Linked DNA regions of Homo sapiens: region 1 is linked to region 2. The links are contacts of gene promoters, found by promoter capture Hi-C in human tissues and cell types (Jung and others, 2019). All regions are on one chromosome and are shown on one strand. Each heading gives the region's core, a stretch centred on a gene start or on the middle of the fragment in contact. The rest is flanking DNA. Distances are from core to core; before and after follow the strand shown.

Region 1 (3,261 bases), core at 356-2,855, 1.6 Mb after region 2:
GCACATTAGTTATAATATCTATACTATCTGTAAAACGGGAATAGCAATATTACTACTTTTTAGCATAGGGGCTAACACTTAGTGTTTAATACATATTAGTTTTTGTTTCTCTTGGAGTCCAGAAATTTGGAACATAAGACAAAGGTTGTGTATGGATGTTTGTGTGTGTGTGCTCTCAGTGAGCTGTGAAGACATTTGTTCTATGACCTCAATCCTTTAGATAGTTTCATTAGCTAAGCAAGAAGACTATGGTTGCAGGTTATCACTTTAAAGCATAGCAATACTACAAGCATACAAGATATTAGGAGACATATGATTTTATTCAATGAACTATTAGATTAGAGATCTCTTGCTACTATAGGCAGTGTTTTTTCCTTGATGATTTATACTTGCATTGCTATGCTTACACAGCATCACAGTATCTGTTTCATGAGACTGATTTGAATGGATCCATCCAAATCAACTGAAATGTTATCTCAACAGTATGTTTAAGTCAAACTAGAGGACACATTTTGGAAAATTAATGTCACTTAGTCAGTTTATAAACTGGGGCTTTTGATAAATCATGCAAACTCTTTCTTGAATGGCTATTTTAACTGTTTTGAATAATAATCATTTAATACTTTAAGTTATAAAACCAGAATATTTATCAAAAACATTTCAAATAATTAAGAGATGAACAAAGTTTTAAGTGAAATTCTACCTTCATCAAACTCCACAAAAATAACTAGGCTTGATTTGGATAATATTGATTTAGTCCTATTTTTGTGTTCCTGCATAAAAAAGCAGAAACATTTTTTTTTCTGAGAGCAATGGCATCTTTCTCTTCTCTTTCATGCTAATATTTTTCTTTATTCACTAAATAGTATATTACTGATGTCCTTCTATGAATACACAAAGATCTATCTGATACTATTTAGTGGAACACAGAATGCCTTATTATAAATTTTTCATAATTCATTTATTTGTTTTTCTATTGAAAAACATTAGGCTGTCCCAATTTTTTTATATAATTTCAACTTTTTAATTTTAGATTCAGTGGTATACATGCATGTTTTTTGTGTGGGTATATTGCACGATGCTGAGGTTTGGGGTGCAGATCCTGCCACCCAAGTAGTGAGCATAGTAACAAATAGGGAGTTTTTTAACCCACACCCCTCTCCCACACTACCTCCTCTAGTGTATATCGTAGTCATCCTTATGTCTATGTGTATTCAATATTTAGTTCCCACTTACAAGTGGTTTATATATACCACGTTTTATTTATCTGCTCCACCATTAATGGTCACCCAGGTTGATACCATGTCTTTGCTATTGTGAATAGTGCTGCAATGGACATATAGGTGCGTGCATCTTTTTGGTAGAACAATTTATATTGCTTTGAGCATATGCCCAGTAATGAGATTGTTGGGTCAAATGGCAGCTCTGTTTTAAGTTCTTTGCAGAAGCTCCAAACTGTTTTCCACAGCAGCTGAATTAATTTTCATTCCCATCAACGGTGTATAAATGTTCTCTTTTCTCCCAAATCTCACCACCATCTGATATTTCTTGACTTTTTAATCATAGCCATTCTGACTGGTATGAGATGTTATCTGATTGCGGTTTTGATTTGCATTTCTCTGGATTAGTGATGATGAGCATTTTTTCATATGTTTGTTGGCTGCTTGTATGTATTTTGAGAAGTGTCTCTTCATGTCCTTTGCCAATTATTTATTGGGGTTATTTGGATACTGCTTGTTGACTTGTTTGAGTTCCTCATAGATTCTGGATATTAGACCTTTGTTGGATGTGTAGTTTGTGAATGTTTTCCCCTATACTGTAGATTGTCTACTCTATTGATACTTTCTTTTGCTGTGCAGAAGCTCTTTAGTTTAATTAGGTCCCACTTGTCAATTATTTTTTGATGTTGCAATTGCTTTTGGTGACTTAGCCAAAAATTATTTACCCAGGCCGATGTAGAGAAAGATACTTCTTAGGTTTTCTTCTAGGATTTTTATAGTTTGAGGTCTTACATTTAAAACTTTATTCCATCTTTAGTTATTTTTCTATATGGTGAAAGATAAGGGTCCAAGTTTTATTCTTCTGTATATTGCTAGTCAGTTATCCCAGCACCATTTATTGAATACGGAATCCGTTCCCCATTGCTTGTTTTCATCAGCTTTGTTGAAGACCAGATGGTGGGAGGTGTGCAGCTTCATTTCTGCTTTCTCTGTTTAGTTCCATTGGTCTATGTGTCTTACCAGTACCATGCTGTTTTGCTTACCATAGCCTTATAGCATAGTTTGAAGCCAGGTAGTGTGATGCTTCCAGTTGTGTTCTTTGTTGTGTTCTTTTTGGTTAGGATTGCTTTGGCTATTTGGCCATTTTTATGGTTCTATGTTAATGTTAGAATAGCTTTTTCTAATTCTGTGAAAAATGTCATTGGTAGTGTGATAGGAATAACATTGAATTTGTAAATTGCTTTGGGCAGTATGGCCATTTTAATGATACTGATTCTTCCAATCCATGAACAAGGAATGTTGTTCCATTTATTTGTGTCATCTCTGATTTCTTTCATCAGTGTTTTGTAGTTTTCCTTGTAGAGATCTTTCACCTCCTGGATTAGCTGTATTCCTAGATATTTCATTTTTTGTGGCTATTGAAAATGGGATTGTGTTCTTGATTTGACTCTCAGCTTGAACATTATTGCCATATAGAAAGCTACTCACTTTTGTCCATTGCTTTTGGGTCCTGAAACTTTACTGAACTCTCTCATCTGTCATTTATGAAATCTAGGAGACTTTTGGTGGAGTCTTTAGGGTTTTCTAGGTGTAGAATCATTTGGCAACAAAGAGAGATAGCTTTACTTCTTCTTGTCCTATTTGGATGCCTTTTATTTTTTTTCTCTTGCCTGATTCCTCTGGCTAGGACTTAAGCACTATGTTGAATAGGAGTGGTAAGAGTGGGCATCTTTGTTTTATTTCATTTCTCAAGGGGAATGATTCCAGCTTTTGCCCATTCAGTATGATGTTGGTTGTGGGTTTATCATAGATGGCTCTTATTATTTTGAGGTATGTTCATTCAATACCAAGACTATTGAGGGTTTTTTAATCATGAATGGAAAGGGATGCTGAATTTTATCAAAAGCTTTTTCTGCATTTATTGAGATGATCATATGTTAATAGTTTTTCCTCTTAATCCTATTTATGTGGTGAATCACATTTACTTATTTGCACTTGTTGAATCAGCCTTGCATCTCAGGAATAATGCCAGTTTGATCGG
Region 2 (3,332 bases), core at 161-2,660:
ACCAGCGGAGGCATCCAAACACTCTCGGGCTCTCCAGAGGAGCAGGAGGGTGCCCCTTAGTGCCCCCGGCGCCCGCCGCAATCTGCCACTGCAGCCTACGCCTGCGGCCGCGGCCGCCGCGGCATTGTCCTCCCGCCGCGTGGGACGGCCCAGCCGCTGGCGACGGCGCGCACCCCGAGGCAGTGGGCTGGGCTGTTGGCAGTAGGGAAGGGAAAACGTGCTGTCTGTGGCTCCTCATCCCCGAGGCCAGGGGTTCCCCGAGCTAGACCGGCAAGGAAGGAGAGAAGGGAAGCATTTTGCTGATAATCCCCTTCTAGTCTCCAAACTACACCTTCTTTGTAAAGGCGTTTTTTCCTCTTCTGATTATAGCTATTGCATTGTACACACAACAAGAAAGTCCATCTTTTTATCGCCATGGCCACCCCCACTCCCATCCCCGCCACAGTACGGTTGAACATCCTGGCATGGCTTTGCAGATTGCCAGCTCTCATTCCCCCTCCCCCGCATTGCTGGGCATCCCGATTTGGACGGTCTCTAAGGTCCCGCGCTGCCAAATCAGGCCTGGCTCTTGTAGGATTTTATTGAAAGGACTGTAAAGAAAGAATGGGTTTCCCTTGACTTTGAAAGTGACCTAAGAACTAGGTCTGTGTTGGAAAAACTTCGTTTTTCTTTCTCTAAAACGTCTTCAGAAAAGCTTAAAAATACAATGAAAAAGGTCAGTTATACTCAGAATTTTCTCTTGATTGTGATAACAGAAATAGGAACGGAAATACCAGATCACAATTTTTAAGCAAAAACCCCAGGATTCCTCCAAGACTGACTGTCTGGAAGGGTAGGGATGTGAGAATCTGAAGTCCACATACATGCTAGGTAGGTACACCTTGATAAATGCAGGACCCATGCCTGCTTCAGTCATCGCAGAGCTGTGGGGCTATGCGCAGACCCTCAACCTCTTTCGGAGTAATATTTTCGGAATCCCTGAAGATAAGGGGGGACAGCAATGGAATCTAGTGAAAGGGAAAGAATAGACAGTGATTTAACCCCCTCCTTCCTCCTCTACAGCCCGATCCACTCTGTTGGCGGCTGCGCCTTGCCTTGGGTGCAGTGGGACGTGTCCCTCCCATGTTTCCCTTAATTAGGAGGAGGCAAACTTCTGTCTTCCCCTCCTGCCGGTTTCGGTTTAGTAATCAGACCACATGAGTCACGCCAAACACGCAGCCCCCTCCCGCTGGAGTGACAACTGGCCAGCATACTCTAGGCTGTTGTCCCTTTAAAACTTGAATCCAAGGGGGTAATGATTTATCAAACTTGTATTATCAAGAAAATGTCAAACCAAGGGCACCTTGCTTTGCACTGACGCAAACCCGGCCTTTCCCAAGGAGATATAGAAAGCGCCTCTCCTGCCTGAGCCAAACCCAGTCTTGTCAATAGCGGGTTTCACCCTCCACCAGTTCAGTCTGTTGCCTGTGTCAGACATGGTGAGTGTTTGCTTTTGTTCTTTCAAGAGGAAAGGGGGCTGAGGGGACAGGGAAAGCAGATTCGTTTTGGCTATTTCTTTTGGAGATGTCTGTGCATTGGGTGGGGGGAAAGGGGGCGACGAGGAGAACAATTCTCGCAGCCCTAGGTATTTGTACTTGTGAGCGTCACCTGAGGTCGCAAAGAGGTTTCCTAGGCTGTAGAGCTGAGAGGTTGGCTGTGGCTCCTAAAGACCCGATCCCGGGCACTGTCCTCGGTGCTGAAAAGCCAGATGCCGGTACAGAGGCGAGTTGCTCTGGGTCCTAGAGGCTACTGAGACAAATGCTGGCTGAAGCCGAGGTACCTAGATTTGTGCAAATCGAGGAGTTCTATTCTGCGTGTTTGTGAAAGGGGGTTAGACGAGAGGAGTGCGGTGGAGGCGAAGATAATAGGATTATTCTTACAGTGTAATAATAATTATTGGTGCTAATGTTTAGGAAGCCGTGAAAGATAACACGAGGGGAGAAAGTGGATAGAAAAACCACCGCTGGCAGTTCTTTTCATTTGAAAGTGAATTGGGAAAAAGCGAATAAAAATTAGTCATGAGTTTTGGTACTCAAGCAAGCTTAGAGTTGTGAAGGATATTAGACTCCTGTGAATAGTTACGCAAAAAAGAAGAAGAGGAAGAAGAAGAAGAAGAAGAAGAAGAAGAAGAAGAAGAAGAAGAAGAAGAAGAAGAAGAAGAAGAAGAAGAAGAAGACCTAAACAAAAGAACAAAAAGCTTTGCATATTCTTTTCCATGTCTGGGAATCTGGAAGTGAATACGAGTTGTGTAAGATAACAAATCTAGTTACTACTCTGTGTCTTAAATTTAGTTTATTATCGTTGTAGGTTTTTTTGTGGTTATTTTGATCGTGATTCTTAACCTTGTCTTTGCTACCTGGCGGGAGGAGGTGGGTTGTGGAGCGCTGGGACTCAACCAATTTGGCCTCAAGCGCTCGCAGGTGCCAGGGCATCAGCTTTGTGGCCACAGCTTGTCTATGGGGGAAAAAGGCAGTGTGCATTGTTGAATGACAAAGGAAATGGGGCGGAAAATTAAAGAATCTTTCTACAGTGGTGATGGGGATGCGGGCACCCACAGCTGTGATGTGGAATCCAAAGAGGGAGGGGAGCTCATGACTCCAGGGCTATTTCCATTCCCCCTTTACCCTTACAAAATTACATTTCTACCTCTTTTCTTAGTTCATCCTCCACTAGGGAGGGAATATTAGCTTCTTTTTGTCATCTGGTTATTGATGAAACGGGCAAATTGAGAAATACTGATTGCAGCCTTTCTTTTAAAAAAAGTTCAGATTCCAATTTGCTTCCCCAGATATTGTGTCTGGACCTGAGTTGCGAACGTCTCCATATCTAGATACAGGTATTTTAAAAGCTGTTGTGACTTTGTTTTGCACGAACTTGACATTGTGTTTGCAGGATTGCAGTGCTCCCAAGGAAATGAATAAACTGCCAGCCAACAGCCCGGAGGCGGCGGCGGCGCAGGGCCACCCGGATGGCCCATGCGCTCCCAGGACGAGCCCGGAGCAGGAGCTTCCCGCGGCTGCCGCCCCGCCGCCGCCACGTGTGCCCAGGTCCGCTTCCACCGGCGCCCAAACTTTCCAGTCAGCGGACGCGCGAGCCTGCGAGGCTGAGCGGCCAGGAGTGGGGTCTTGCAAACTCAGTAGCCCGCGGGCGCAGGCGGCCTCTGCAGCTCTGCGGGACTTGAGAGAGGCGCAAGGCGCGCAGGCCTCGCCCCCTCCCGGGAGCTCCGGGCCCGGCAACGCGCTGCACTGTAAGATCCCTTTTCTGCGAGGCCCGGAGGGGGATGCGAACGTGAG

Evidence for each region. The method cuts DNA at HindIII sites, captures the fragments that hold promoters and counts their contacts. A contact is called where the count stands out against the background at its distance.
Region 1: a fragment that was not itself captured here is called in contact with the fragment with the promoter of SLC6A5 in region 2 in 1 of the 25 tissues and cell types used here (dorsolateral prefrontal cortex).

Annotation. Positions count from the first base shown.
Region 1 is chr11:22,240,016-22,243,276 of GRCh38, forward strand. All of the region lies in intron 9 of ANO5 (anoctamin 5), which reads left to right. Among named protein-coding and RNA genes, the nearest start is that of ANO5, 49 kb to the left of the region's middle. The HindIII fragment of the contact is 4,063 bases long and covers 1-3,261 here.
Region 2 is chr11:20,598,198-20,601,529 of GRCh38, forward strand. It overlaps SLC6A5 (solute carrier family 6 member 5), which reads left to right and starts at 1,411. Exons shown (of 16, transcript NM_004211.5): 1 at 1,411-1,478; 2 at 2,932-3,332. The coding sequence starts at 1,476. The HindIII fragment of the contact is 4,309 bases long and covers 1-3,117 here.